2 separate regions of the Homo sapiens genome follow, and region 2 is linked to region 1. The links are contacts of gene promoters, found by promoter capture Hi-C in human tissues and cell types (Jung and others, 2019). All regions are on one chromosome and are shown on one strand. Each heading gives the region's core, a stretch centred on a gene start or on the middle of the fragment in contact. The rest is flanking DNA. Distances are from core to core; before and after follow the strand shown.

Evidence for each region. The method cuts DNA at HindIII sites, captures the fragments that hold promoters and counts their contacts. A contact is called where the count stands out against the background at its distance.
Region 2: a contact is called between a fragment that was not itself captured here and the fragment with the promoter of CBLN1 in region 1, in 2 of the 25 tissues and cell types used here (dorsolateral prefrontal cortex and lymphoblastoid cells).

Annotation. Positions count from the first base shown.
Region 1 is chr16:49,277,756-49,285,361 of GRCh38, reverse strand. It overlaps CBLN1 (cerebellin 1 precursor), which reads left to right and starts at 3,524. Exons shown (of 3, transcript NM_004352.4): 1 at 3,524-4,160; 2 at 4,320-4,439; 3 at 5,761-7,445. The coding sequence starts at 3,897. The coding sequence ends at 5,958. It overlaps SYNAGE (synapse stability regulating cerebellar lncRNA), which reads right to left and starts at 3,300. Exons shown (of 4, transcript XR_933530.4): 1 at 3,130-3,300. RefSeq lists silencers at 2,871-2,970, 3,341-3,450 and enhancers at 3,803-4,420, 6,498-7,022, 7,023-7,549. The HindIII fragment of the contact is 18,550 bases long and covers 1-7,606 here.
Region 2 is chr16:49,018,692-49,026,297 of GRCh38, reverse strand. No RefSeq gene overlaps it. Among named protein-coding and RNA genes, the nearest start is that of CBLN1, 260 kb to the left of the region's middle. The HindIII fragment of the contact is 3,880 bases long and covers 2,301-6,180 here.

The DNA.
Region 1 (7,606 bases), core at 2,275-4,774:
CTTCAAAGCTAAACCTCAAATAACATCATAGTGAGTGGTTGACTTCATGTTTAACTGAGATCTTGAAGACTGAAAAAGACCACGACAAACACACATCTATTTTCTTGGCTACTGCATCCGTGTTCATCACCATTCTGATAGTCTGCAATGTATTGCAGCTCACCCTTTGGGAAGGACTAAAGTAGACATCTGTTTGTTCTGCTTACTCAGCATTCCTACCCTAATTTTCCTTTGGAGAACCCCTTTATTCTAGACCACGTGAAGCTAATGCCAAACCCCATTCCAGGGGATGCACCTGAATCCAACCTCCATCATCTAAACAGTGCCTTCTCCACGTTCAGAGAAGAGCAAGTGACTCAAACTGCCCTCATAAGAACAGACCTGGGACTTCTGCTGCAAATATTGAAGAGTAAGTACTCTTTTTTCTTGCTAGGACTAAGCTGGTAGTACCTTCTATGAGGCTATCATATGGAAACAACTTGTCTGAAAATGAAGCCACAACTAGAAAACAGATCCTGGTAACCCGGATTGATGGATCCAGCCCTACCTTAAATGGCAAGACCTAACCCGAGGCTTTTTGCATCAACCAATAAAGTCCTTAAGCCAGTTTGAGTTGGTTTTGTCACTTGCAGCTAAAAGAATTCTGACTCTAACAATGTGACAATAGCAAAAATAAACATAACTGCTTTTGAGGTTTCTAATGGATTTTCCTCCCTATATACATGATTTCATTTAATCCTCACAATTCAGGAAAGCACATATCTATTAACATTAAATTAATATTCATTATTTTGAACACATGCTATGTGGATAAGGGATGAGGAAAGCCAAGGAAGTAATCAACGTGAAATCTCACTTATATGGGAGGGAAGTGGAGGTTACATATCTCAGGGCACTTAACAGATATCATCAAATGAAAGAATAAACAGTGTGTGGGAGAGGCAGTAGGTGATTCTTCATCAATTCCTGGATGAAAAATTAGGAGATAATGAACTCCGAACAGGCAGCCTAATGAGAATGGCTCAAGCAACAGGACATAGAGAGGGAGTTAGGTTAGACATGGGGTTCTTGGGAATTTTCACCTCGTGGGGGGGCGGGGGGGTCGTGCAGCTGTTGTCAGTGGGAAAGGGAAAAAGGAAAAGGCTGAGTTTGGAAGGCAGGGAGGGAGGAGACAATGTGAGTCAGTGAAAAAGGGCCCTTAGAATGACAAGTCTGGACCAGAGAGAGGCTAAGACTGAAAATACAAGTTGGGTAACCACTGGCATACAGATGGCAGTTCAGGCTTGGGCACTGCCCACCAGAGCCTCAGCATGAAGAGAAGAGGGGGAGGCTGGCCACCACCTCCCTCTAGGTAATCGTCATCCTGATGCTGAGCTCCTGAAAACAGGCTCTTTCACTCGCCCCATCTCTTGCTCTTGATTGCAACCCGGCATTCAGGAGGCACCCTGTAATATCTGTGGAGTGACCGACAACACAGCGCCAGGGCACTGAGAAGATCCCAGGGCGCCAGGGACTGGTTCTACAAGGGTGCCCCTCCCGGTCCCCTCCAGCGCGCCGCCAGAGCTGCCAGTCTTGGCTGCTACACGGGAGGCAGCCTCATTATGCAGCTCTCACCTCTTAAATTAGTTCATGCTCTCACATTAGGTGTAATCACAGCTTGCAACGCTTTCTGGGGATGTCTCAGAAAGATCTGAGTTGAAAAAATATTTTTGTGTCATTTTAATTTAAAGTAAAATTGCTGCTTCTTCCCCGCCCCTTTCTTTCCTCCTGGCCCACCCAGCGACCCTGGCCGGCCGTGCTCAACGGGGGCGGGGGTCGGAGGTGAGATTTCCTCCACATAATTCCTTAAACAGCTATCAACTAAGTCTCAAAGAAAAAAAAAAGAGATCTAGAAGCAGAGACGTGGCTGCTGGCGATCCCAAAGCTGGTGTTCGCTCTTGGGGGAGAGCGTACCCTGGGGGAGGCCGGGAGGCCGGGCCAGAGGCTAGCCCAGAGGCAGAGGGCAGGAGCGCTCAGCCGGCGCCCCGCGTCTCTCCAGCTCCCGACGCTGCGCTGGCTCCGCTGAGCACGCCAGGATCAAGGTCGCCTGGTGGGGACCGGAGCGCCAGGAGCCTGTGGGAAGCGTTCCAGCCGGCCTCTGACTGGGATCCGGCGCCGCGTTTCTGCTTTGGACTTGACTGACAGGTCCCCCCGCCCTCCCGCCGCCCTACTACCAGCCTGGGTTCATCCTTCAGGGCTACGTCTACCGCACCCGGGCTGGAAAGCCTGGAGCGCGCCCTTCCTCTCCTCATCTTCTCAGCTCTCCTTTCTCCCTGCCACTTGGCAAAGCTGCATTTTGACTTTCACGTTTTGGACTACGTGTGTGTAGTTCCAAGTCCATGCGTGGCACGAAAATCCACTTAGGGTAAAAATTATTCTCGAAAAATCGCCCATCTCAGGATCTGGTGTCTACACTCAAGGCTAGGAGGTGCAGGTACGGGTGCGTAAAGCATGCCGTAAGGGTGCACAGTAAATAAAAAGTACGGATGCAAAATGTAAATTTTAAGTGCAAAACAGAAAAGCAGTACTCGTTGCCGCCCCGCACGCTGGGTTTTAAGGGGCACGAAGGTGGGCCTCGGCTGCTTTTGCTCAGCCCCGCGTCCTCAGCGCCCGGCCCAGTACCCGGTACTCCGTAGGGGTTCAATGATCTCCCCTGAATAAGTGAACGAATTAACAAATGAATGAATGACCGCTCGATCCGACCTCCGCGGCCGGCAGAGCAGTCGCTGGAGAGGCGGGAGAGAGCGAGAGGCCAAGCTCCACCATCGCGGCCGCCGGCTGGGGCAGAGGGACACGGAGACACTCGGCGCCCCGGCTCCGCACCGAGTCCCCGCGGTGAGTGCCCGCCCAGCAGCTCCCGGGCACCACGTGCGCCCGCCAGAGCCGCGCAGGCCCCGCCCCGCCGCGCGCGCACGCGCCCTGCACCCCGGCCGCCGGGACCCTGAGCCAGGCTCGCCCAGCGCGCCGGCTGCCCTCGCGCCCGCGCCCGCTGGGGGGCGCTCCCCTCCCAACGGGCGCGCCCACAGGCGGGCAGGCGACTCGCAGCCTCCAGCGATTCCACTCCCGACCCCGGGGCGCGCCGCCTCCTACCTGAGGGCCGACGAGTGGGGGCGGGCAGGAGGGCCGAGGGAGGCGGAACAGGATCGAGGCGCGAGGCGGGAGTCGAGAAAGCGAGCGGCCGAGGCGACTCTCAGTGCGCGGACGCGGGCGCGCGCCCGCGCTCCCTTCGTCGACTCACGGCGAGAGCCCAACCCTGCTGCCGCGCGCCACCCGCCTCGCCGCGCCTAATAACAACGGCGCCCGGGGTCAGGTGGCCGAGCGCGGACAGCGCCGCCATTGGCTCGGTGGGGAGCGCGGCGCGTCAGGATTGGCTGGGGGGCGTGGCCTCGGCCGGGGCGGGGGCAGGGCCTCGGAGGGAGGCGGGCCGGGAGGCGGCGGGGGCGGGGCCAGGCCGAGGTCCGCGCCTTTGTGCCCGGCGCGCGCTCTCCGCCCGCTCCGGCTGCAGCGCCGGCTGCATCAATAATTCAGAGCGGCGGCGGCGGCGGCAGCGGCGGGTGCGGGCAGGAGGCGGCGGCAGCAGCGGGACCGAGCAGCAGCGGCTATGCATCCAAGTGCGGCTGGGCAGCCGCGGCACCCCTGAGGCCCGGGAGGGGCTCCGGGAACACAGCGCGGAGGGGACGCTAGTCGCGGAGGGGACGCTAGTCCCGGAGTGCGAGGAAGAGGTGTAGTGTCCAGAGCGGCGGCGGCGGAGCTGCGCACGGAGCTGAGGAGGGGGCTTCGGAGCGGGACTGGGACGGGGGGGGCGGCTGGCGCGAGCAGCCCTGGGGGTGGGGGGCGGGGTGGGCGCCGGCGGCGCGATGCTGGGCGTCCTGGAGCTGCTGCTGCTGGGGGCTGCGTGGCTGGCGGGCCCGGCCCGCGGGCAGAATGAGACGGAGCCCATCGTGCTGGAGGGCAAGTGCCTGGTGGTGTGCGACTCCAACCCCACGTCCGACCCCACGGGCACTGCCCTGGGCATCTCTGTGCGCTCTGGCAGCGCCAAGGTGGCTTTCTCTGCCATCAGGAGCACCAACCACGAGCCGTCCGAGATGAGTAATCGCACCATGATCATCTACTTCGACCAGGTGAGTGTTCCTTCCTCCCGCGGCGTGCAGATTGGGCTGGTGAAGGAGGGATGGATGGAAGACCGATGCCCGGTCCTCTCCAAGGGCTCTGCGGAGGCGCGGGGACGACAGTCCGGGACCGATTCCTGCCCACTCCCCTTCGTTCCCGTCTCGTTATAGGTACTAGTGAACATTGGGAACAACTTTGATTCAGAACGCAGCACTTTCATCGCCCCGCGCAAAGGGATCTACAGTTTTAACTTCCACGTGGTAAAAGTCTACAACAGACAAACCATACAGGTCAGCCGACGCCTCGTGCCGGGCCCTGGCCCCGTAGGGGGGTTACTGGCCTCAGGGGTGCTCGGGCTGTCCGGAGGTGGTAGGCAGAAGTGGCGGCTGCATGTACTTCGGGCTGCTTGGAGGGACAGATAGCGGGGCCTCTCAGTTCTGTGGCTTCAACTGTCCTCTGCTTTCCCTGTCTCTGGCTCTTGGGATCCAGCCCCATCCCCCGAGAGACAGAATTTTCTGCTTCTGCCTTCCGGGCCTCTCCGAAGGGTTCCCTGGATTTCAGGGACTTCCTTGTAACGGCTGTTGTTAGCGCCCCAGACAGCTGCCGCTTGGGAAGCCTTCCCGGACTCCCCAGGAAGCACCGCGACAGTACACCCTACCCCTTGCCCCGGCTCAGAAGCCTGCGATGCGGCTTGCGTGCTTGTCTTCAGCACCACGGACGGGGCCCCCGTTTTCTCCCACTTGTCCCCAATCCCCACCCCGTGCGGACTGTGGGTTTTTGAGCTAGCAGCATTTAGCCCCGGAGGGTGAGGGGTAGAGAGAGGAGGGAGGGAGGGGGCGTAGTGCTACTCTCTCCCGGCTCCAGCCGTGTCCCAGCAATCACTCGCCGGCTCTCCGGGTCCCCAAAGATGTCCAGGTTTCCCTTGGGCGCCGAGAGAGGTGGGACGCACAGCTGGGGAGAGGGCGCGAGGCCCTTGGCTGACGGTGCCACCACAGGGGCAAAACCAGGCGGTGGCGGGCGCGGCTGGATGGGGGAGGGAATTGAGCCCGTGGTTTGGGGAGGAAATACATTGTGCCGCTCGGTGCGAGACTTCTAATCACAAATCACAGTGGCTTCTCCACTGTGTCCTGGCAGCTGGGTCCAGGAGGGATCAGGGGCTTTTTGTTTGTTCGTTTTTGTTTTTCCGGTAGCGCCAGAAGGAGCCTGAGTTGCTGGGTTTTTTTTGTTTGTTGTTTGTTTTTTGAGGCTGAGGGGAAACGGGAGAGAGGTCAAAGGTCTCAGGGCGCTAGAGCCACCTCATGGGTTTATTAAATTGGATCACAGAGCACAGTCGAGATTCGCTTGGCGCGCTCATTTGAGAAACTGGAATAAGAGCAACTCCCGTTTTGGGGACAGGCCCTTCCTGTCACCCAGATGTGTGGTCTTTCGCCCCACTGGAGCCTCAGCAGTAAGCTGCAAAGCCCCTTTTCCTCCATTCGCCCCCCCCACCCCCCACCTCTCCGTGCTTCCAGGCCTTACAGGCTGTTAGCCAAGCAAGGAGGAGGTTCGCTCCACCGCGGCTTCGGTGCCTGCCTAGGTTGCGCCTCTGAAGCGGGCCTTTCTCTTTCTCAGGTGAGCCTCATGCTAAACGGGTGGCCGGTGATTTCAGCCTTCGCTGGTGACCAGGACGTGACCCGGGAGGCCGCCAGCAACGGAGTCCTAATCCAAATGGAGAAAGGCGACCGAGCATACCTCAAGCTGGAGCGGGGAAACTTGATGGGGGGCTGGAAGTACTCGACCTTCTCCGGATTCCTGGTGTTTCCTCTCTGACTGGCTCGTAGCCGGAAGGGAGGCAGGGAGAGGGCGAAGGCAGGAAGGGGAGTGAGAAAGAGGCTGAAATTAAGAGGGCGAGAAAGCAGCACGACTTGAAACTTCCTACATGTTCTCTAACTGTATCTGGGTAAAAAGGTGCGCGCCAGCTGTGGGACAACTTTGTCCATTTCCTTATTAGGAGAAATAAATTTCGCTTAGCTCTGCGCACTCCCATTTCCAAAAATAAACTCGCCTCCCCCATTCCAGTTGCAGTAATCAAGAAAGAGACTGCCTTGTCATTGTTTCTTATCCCCCAACTTCATGTTCCCTGCAATTTATTTAAAGAAACTTTGTATTTCACTACATAATCTGAAATCTTTCTCCCTAGCCCCCTCTGAATCCTTCTGCCTACTGAAATCTGATATATTACACACCCCCAACCTTTTTTTTTTCAGTTTGGAAAGGGGTAAAGTTTTGTTGTTGTTGTTGTTTTGTTTTGGATGGGGAAGGTAGTTTTAATTTGGCAAGTGTTGCTCTTCTTAAAACACTGCTCAAATTAATTAGCTGAAGATACTTAGTATCCTCGGCTGCTTGTTAGCAGAGAAAGGACTCACCTTAGTGGTGACTGGTTTAAAAAATATAAATATATATCATTTGTATACGAAGAACTCTTCCCAGTGGAAACTGGCTGTGTTTCCGTATTTCTATGTTCTATTCGGAGTGATCGTGAAATCTAAGGCTGCTTGATGTTCTGATGCTTGTCAATGCCGTCGTGCTCTGTGACTCCACGAAACGCCAAGGAGCTTCTTCCGGACGCCTCCTCTTCCTCTGTAACATACGTGTGAATAGTCAAGGTTTAATTTTGCTTTAATCTAATAAAGTCGAAGTGGGACTTTTATTTTTCTGAAACAGCTTTCTAAAATCCGCATCTTCCCCAGCTGCGAGGTTGGGGGTCTGGGGTGCCAAAGGGCGAGGTTCCGAAAGGCAGGAGACTTGGGGGAACGCAACCATAGAAAGGCCTGGGCGCGAGGGCTTCCTTGCAAAGCCGGCCTTGCGCTCCTTCCTGCGCCAGGCCGGGGACCAGCACTGCATTCGCCTGTGTTCACAGCTTTGGCGGAAACGTAAGAAATGTGGCCGAAATCTTGCTAGGCCAGGCGCGGCCGCCGGCCCAGGAGCGAAGTTTGATTTTTTTCTTTGCATTCCAAATGCATCAGGAATAGTCCCAGTTTGAGGACCCAAACGACCCTGCCTGGAGCGGCAGACTCCTCAGGCCTTCTGTCCCCGGATGTCTCCCACCGCGTCCCCCTCGCAGTTCCCGAAGCAGCGTATGTTTTATACACCGCCTCTGAATCCGGAGTCCACCCGCCGCATACTCGGGCGCCCAGGACCTATGATTCCGCTCATTCACAGGACTTTATTCAAGAGGTTCGTCCAGGAGTTTTGATTGTATCGGAACATAATGTGAAAGCAAAAATGAAATAAACGACTTCGTTTTAAGTCTGAAAGGCTGACCCAGTTGCTTCGGCAGCGGGGAGGTCGGGAGCCGGAGCGAGTGGGCAGCCTAGGGCGAAGGGCCGGGAGCTGGGAGCTGCAGCCGGGTGGTCCCCTGCAGTTGTGGTTCCTTTCAGAGAAACGTTTTCCTGGCCCAATATTCAGGAATGAATTT
Region 2 (7,606 bases), core at 2,991-5,490, 260 kb after region 1:
AACAACAGAGGCAGGCAGCTGACTTGGGAGGCAGTCTTGGAGTGAAACAATAAACTCTTGGAGCTGATGGTAGAGGTGAAGATGGAAGTATAAGAATATAGATGGATTCCTGTCCCAGGTGAGACAGGTTGGATCAGTGGCCTTCCCTGACCACTTCCAGCCTGAGGTGTTATGGATTCTACAGTTCTAAGATTGTAGAATCTGTGACTTCTGAGTTCAGTCTCACTCCCAAGATTGGGCCCAGTGGTTGGTCTGACCATGCTTCTCAGAGCAGCATCCTACAGGGATGAAAACTCAGACCCCCATCTTGAACCTCAAAACCAGAATTTGTCCCTGTAACAGACACATCAGTTCATAACCACAAATCTCAGGCCACCACTTCAGCGAGGCAAGGAATGTGTCTATTTGTGCATTCACTAAGTGTGTCAAGCAGAATAATGGTCCCTGAATGATGTCCATGTCCTCGTTCCCAGGATCAGGACCACATAGCAAAGGGGACTTAAGGTTGCAAATGAAATTAAGGTTTCTAATCAGCTTACTTTAATATTATTCAGGTGGGCCCTATGACAAGGGTTCTTAAAGTGAAAAACAGAGGTAGAGAAAGAGATGTGACCTTGTAGGATGTTCAGGTGATGCAATGTGAGAAGGACTCAACCTGCCATTGCCAGCTTTGAAGTTGGAGAAAGGGCCCACGAGCCCAGGAATGTGGGAGGCCGGAGGAAGCAGGAAATAGCAAGAAAACAGATTCCCTCCTAGACTCTCCAGAAGAAATACATCCCTGCTGACACCTTGATGTTAGCCCTGGGGAGCAGTCATGTAGACTTCTAACCTGCAGAGCTGTAAGTTAATGAATGTGTATTGTTTCAAGACACTAAGTTTGTGGAATTGGTTACGGCATTGGTAAAAAACTGATACATTAAACTTCAATGATTATTTATGTCTGTATCCCACCAGATAATGGAAACTTACACTCAGTCAAGTTGAGATTTCCCCTTCCCCGAAGGTCGTTTCTAAGTTCTGGGGGCAGGATTCACAGGCAGTGGGAGATGGGGGTGGGAGTGTCTGGTCCTCAGTTGTGACGTGTCCATGCCGGTGTCCTTGAAAGTAGTGCATCATGCATCTGATTCTTGGCTGTCACAACACGTGGGTTGTGTCTGCAGCGCCCTTCACTCCTGACCTTTGGGCCTCTCCCAGCCCGGCTCCTGCTGTCAGTGACTTGCCTGCTCTTCTCACATGCAGCGGGCAGGGGAGGAATGGGCGCCCTCCAACCTTAGTCTGGAATCCCAAGAAGTGCTGGGAGGCTGCCTCATGGCCTTCTGAAAACCACAGGCCTTGTCACTCTTTATATTCCTGTCCAATTTTTCTCTTCCTGTCCAAGACTAGAGAATTTTCCTCTGGGGCAGCAAAACCTGCCTGAAACTGTCACGTGTGCTTCTAAGTCTTCGTCTTCAGCCTTAACCTTGGGTTATGAGTCTGATTTCTTTGCCCTCCGATGCTAATGTGACACCTCTCTCTTGAAGATTGTAGGGTCCATGGTCTCCTGACCCAGTGGGGAGGGTTGTGAGATAATAGGAAATACCAGAGGGGATCCCTCATTAATTCTTCTGGATATTTTTCCTCTGTATCACCAACCCCTATTGTGGAGGAGGAGCCAGGACCCCAGTCCCTGAAGCCCGCTGGATCCCACAGGGCTAAACACAAGCTTCTCCTGGATGCCAGGAGGTTCCTGTTCTCCTTGAACTCCTGAGGCTGAGCCAGAATTCCCATCACTGGCGGCAGCAGTTGGAGTTCTAACCCATCAGTTTCTTTTTTGATTCTAAAGGCCTTGTTATGAGTTGACTTTTCTCCCTGCCCCTACTCCCCAACCCCACCAAATTTATATGTTGAAGCCCTAACCCCAGATACCTCAGAATGTGATCTGATTGATGCAGAGTCTTTAAAGAAGTAATTAAGGTTAAATGAGGTCATTCGGGTGGGCCCTCATCCACTTTGACCAGTGCCCATGTAAGAAGAGGAAACTGGGACGTAGACTGTACAAAAGGAAGACCATATGAGGACATGGTAAGAGGGTGGCCAGCTACAAGCCTACCTGAGAGGCCTCGGAGAAGCCAGCCCTGCCGACAGCTTGATCTTGGCCTCCCAGCCTCCAGAGCTATGAGAAGATGAAGTCCTGTTGTTTAAGCCACCCGACCTGTGGTCCTTTTTTATGCCAGCCAAAGCGCACAAATTCAGGCCTTAAGACCTTTTGTTCTGTGGCCCTGCGGTCCAGGAAGAACAGCTCCAAAGGCAGCATGAACCTTCCCTCCTGCCAGCTCCCAGGAGCTACTTTGCAAAACATGCCCCTTCCTCCTTCCCAAATGAAAGCCAGTGCCCGTCTCTCAGCCCACCCCTCTCTCTTTATGCTTCCATTTTCATGTCTGGATTTCTAAGCCTAAAATGCTTGCTATCTTTAACTTGAAAGACCAGTCAAGTCTTTTGGTGAGGTGGGGGTGGAATGCATCTCCCAACCACACCTCAAGAGATTGCTTTTCTCATTCTTTGGGTCTGAATTCAAGTCCTCTTCAGCCACAAACCTTGTGCTGCATCCCCTCCGGGATTTTCCACAGCAACAAGTTCATCCCATTTCCTCCAGCATGGTGTCCCAGAAGTATTATACCTCCAGCAAAGGTGGTTCACAGGATCATGTTAGGTGGTACGCAGAGAAACATTTGTCACGTGGTTAGGATTGATTTTAATGTATAGTAGAAAACAATAAAGCTGGCACCTCAAACCTGTGATTTTACAGGCTTTATGGCTGATGCTGAGGCTAGCATAGGTGTTAAAATGTCCTACACTAAGTAAATACTGACAGGAGGGGTGTGGCAAAAATCAGCACAGTGGGGTGAGAACAGCGGAAGCTTTGGAGATGAGTATTTTCATGAGCAAGTGTGTGCAGCATTGATCTGCAGGAAATTGGCAGAGTGGAGTGGTGCAGGGGTGTGAGTCAGCAAGCGTGAAGGGGGCAGGAGAGGGTTCTAGTCAGCCCTGACACCTCTGTTACTCCTTCTCCATAACTGATCCAGGAAAATCCGACCCCGGATGTTTGTTTCCCATGGCTACAGTCCATGTGGAAAGCTGCCCAGGCTTGCAGGGGAGGCCAGAAAGGCCCTTAGGAACTTATGCTATTGTGGGGGCTCTTGCATCTGATTTTACAGGCATTTCACAGGCAGCAGGGGGCTTCATTTTTTTCCAAGTTCCCTGGTCTTGTCAGAGGCTGGCAACCTCAGCTGTGAAATGAATTTGCTTCCCCCGTTTATGCATTGGACAAATGCAAGCTCTTTACCTGAGCCCAGCCACTGAGCAGCACCCTGCAGGGAAACACAACTGTCCAGACAGCAGACAAACCCACCCCGCCGCGAAGCCAAGGGTACGTCCCAGTGAGGGCTTGGGGGAGAGGAGGCATAAGACCTGGAAATCCAGGAAACATGGAGGGCACTTGCAGATGGTCGATCTGCCAGGGGACCTTCCCGCAAGCATGGAAGTCTGTGTCCCCACGCCCAGGTTGAGTCACCGCCGGCTCCCCAGCAGCCAAGTAGGGTACCTCTCTCTGTGCAGCTGAAAGATCACTTACCTGCAAATGACTATGACTCCTCATTTGACTGAGGTTTAGCTTGTTAGTTCTAAGGAGCCTTTAAAAAAATGGAGTATTGTGGGAAAGCATGCAACTGTGTGGGCCCTTTCTGATGTAACCATGTGTCTCCGGCTATATTCATCCAATGGCATTTAAGGCTCATTAAATTTTGAATCCAGCGTCACCTGCCTTAGGCTTAAAATAGTTCTCCATGTGCCTTTTGTCTCCAAACTCCATTTTAATGGAAATTGTTTCCATTCACCTCTCCGTTCCCTTCTTCCTGCCAGCAATACCCTATCTTTAATAATCTCCAGTATGCAGATGTGAGCTCTGTGAACCTGTCATTTGGGGGAATACATTGGACCTTGACTGCTGTAAACAGTTGATGGTAAAAATGCAAGGAGAACCTTAGGATGTTCCCTTTTCCTCCTGCTTCCTCTCCGGCTGTGCAGAAGGACCCCAAATCCCGCACCCTCAATATTACTGATAGCTGGAAGCTTCATGAGACTCACCACAAGGTAGTCTCTGCTTCACATCTTGTGTCTTAACTCAGGAAACTTCCAGGGTTTCACACAGGACATGCATAAGCCCCATCTAAAGGCAGTAGCTGTTCATCATAATGAATAAATCTTAAACGGCTCTTAATAAGTGCCAGACACTGTTCTAGTGCTTATAACTAAGTGCCATGGGGGCTATCTCCTTTTTTATAGATAAAGAGACTGAAGCACAGAGAAGCTAAGTAAATGGCCCAAAGTCACACAGCAATTAAGCTGTGGGGCTTGGATTTGAACCCAGGCCATCTGAATGAAGTCCGAAGCTATATCCTGCCCACTCTGCTATATGCACGCCTACGCCCCCAGTTGGAGGTTGCCTCGTGTTAATGTCAGGCAATCATTTCCAGACCTTTGTATTTTTTCAGAGAAGCCAGAAATCTAAATTTTATGTGAAATGTCCCGATTTTTTAAAATTGGCAAATAAAATCATTTTTAACACCGTGAGAGCCAAACAAAATATGCCTATGAACAGTAACTGGTTTTTATGCCACCCAGGTGAGACCTCTGGTTTAAACTAACTCTTCAAAAAAAGCAAAGTGGCCATCAAATTCAAACACTTCCATGCCAGCGAGAAGCTTCTTTTGAAGCTGAGCAGAAAGCCCAAAGAGCAGGCAGAAATCCGTTCTGGGATCCTGGTTGGATATCCCGAAAGTCACCGTGCTTCACGGAGCAGGCAGCTTCTCCAATCGTGACTGTTAAGTTGCTTTACAGAAAGGTTCAGGGAAACTTGCTTTGCGGTTGGTTGAACCTGCACTGCGTTAAATCAACACAGCAAATGTAGCAACCAGCACAAGAAATGTCAGCTCTCATTAGCCTGCATATAAATCTGCCTCCACCAGAATCGGTATTACAGAACATTGGGGAAAATGCCAGGAAGCAGGAACATATGTTGCTCACACAAAAAGAATCTCCAACAATGGGTGTCTTCCTCCACAGTGGAGGCACCTGGAATAGGGACAGGGAGGCTTTGTTTTGCCTTGATGCCGCCCCCACCCCCACCCCGCTGTTCCTGGCCAGGAAACTGGGAAAACTCCATAGCTTCATCATCTGTGGTAGGAGGTTGTGCTAAGTGTTCGCTGACACAGCTGAACAATCATAAAATGTCATAAAGAGTAAATGACTTGATCATGCAAAACAGTAATTAGGATGTGGGGCATATTTATGCTATTTACATATTTTAACACCCTGATATTAACGATCTTCCTAATAGTACATAAGTAATCTAGCCTTTGTGCAATTTGTTCTGGCCTGCCACGAACACGTAGTCCTTAAAAGCAAGTGCCCGTTTCCCTTCTCTCTCCCGACTCTGTATCTGCATTCATGGAAGCCCACCGGGGGAAAGCCAGGCAGGAAAGCTGGCAGTGGGCAATGGAACACCTTCCCTAAAGCACATAGGTCTGGAAGTCATCGGGGGAAACTCAGGAAGGAAGGAAGTTCCCTTGGTGAGAAGTCTTCCTGCAGGCTGTCTAAAGGGGCTGAAGACAGTAAGTGCGCTGATAAATGTGTAACAACCGGCTCTCAAAATAAAAATCCTTGATATGTAGCACTTGCCAATTTTCATGAAGTAAATACACCCACTATGGCCAATGTAGTGTCCAAGCTCCTGACACAACTTCACTGAACACCCAGTTGGGAAGGGTCTCTAGCACACCATTAGTTGGGAGTCACAGCCACCACCTGATTGACCTCAGTCACTACCTTAACTCCTGTCTGCAAGTAGAGAAATGCAGCAGGGCCATGGCTATAAGAACTATGCCCAACTCCAGATATCGTCCAAGATTACCCAGGTATTTTCTTATGCAAAATAATTGTCCTGGAGAGCCGGTAAGGAATAACTGAATTCATCACCCTGGCTGCACAAATGGGAAACTGCAGCTGAGAGTCAGAAACAGTTTATGCAAGGGCGCACAGCAGTGGACCTCAGCACTGCAGCTGGAGCGCCACTCTCCTTCTCTACCCAGCGCTTTTTGTGCCAGGACCTTTTCCCTGCACGTTCCCTGCTGGTTCCTGCTCAGGCGCCACAGCTCGCTTTTGTGCCTCACAGTCTCCTTGGCCCGGCCCTGTGTATATAAGTGTGTGCACACGTGGAAGGCGGGGCGGCAGGCTAGCAGCCCTGTGTGGTGATGATGGTTGCCAGGTAACAGGAAGGCATCGTGGTGGGGAGCCTTCCTTGGCAGATATAGATAAATGGGCGCAGCAGGGAATGGAGCCTCCCTGGAGGAGGAGAACGTGGCAATGTCTGGTATGAGGGTTCTGAGTCAGAAATGGGGTATAAAACCCAAGAAGGAGGGGTTAGGGAGACATTACAACTCAAGGGGATGTTAAAGAAGGGCTGGTCCGTTTCCTCCATCAGGAGCCAAGACCCAGCACTGCTAGGAAGCAACTTGCTCAAGGTCACACCATTCAGAGTCAGGGCCACTGGAAGTGAATGGTAGGATCTAGGGCTCCCACTGAACCCCAATGAATATGATAGAAACCTCATAAGGCACAAGTGACCCTGAATGCCAAGTGCGGGAAGTTTAACAATAACCTCCATGGCTGTGCGTTTGGAAGGAGCTCTGTGGTGCTGCCCTGGTCACCACCGACCTTTCCCTCCCCTTCCCATCTCAGCCCTGGGGAAGGGAGCAGAGCCAGGGAGCAGAGAGAAAGATGAGAAGGAATGATGCTGACGTCACCGGGAAGGGGCGTGAAATTCCAAGGGGTCACTGGGCTGAACAGATGGCCGGCAGATATTGGTTTTAACTCGCACATGGCTGAGTAAATAATGTTTAAGTTTTTCTTGCCAGCCTGGGGAGCCGACAGATCGCACTGAGTGGAGGTACCTCCACCCCCCGCCCGCATCATCTGCTCTTCCTGGGGTTTTCATTTCCTACCCTGTTTGCGCTTTAGAGCATGGCTGGCTGGTCAGGAAGCCAGTGCCCTTGGAGGCAGGAGCCTGTGTGCGGAAAGAGGCAGGGAGAGGGCATAATGGGGAGGAGGCCAGCCCTTTATTGGAGTGTGTGCCTGGGCAGTACCTGTCAGGCAAAATCACCATCAAGGGTGTCTTGGGTAAATTGCCTGGGGTGGGGGGAGCTGGTCATGTTTCAATCCTTGATAACAAAGAACGTGGCATGACTACACACCCTTTGGTCTGCCTGTCAATAAGATTGTTTCTCTGTCCACAGATCAAAGAGCTGGGTCTGGTGAAACGTCAAGGTGGGACTGCGCTTTTATCCTGAAGTGGCCACTCACTGGCCTATGGCAAGTCTCTTAACTCTGCCGAGCCTCAATTTCCCCATGCATCCAATGAGGGTGTTGGCATTGTCCTGAGTATCCTCATAGGGAAGAAATGTTTGGATGAATCCTGTCTGTATGAATGGGTGATAAGAATGCAGATGTACATGGTGGACAAGCCCAAATTTGCTGGCACAGCAGAAATGGATTCACTGAATTATTTTTGAGC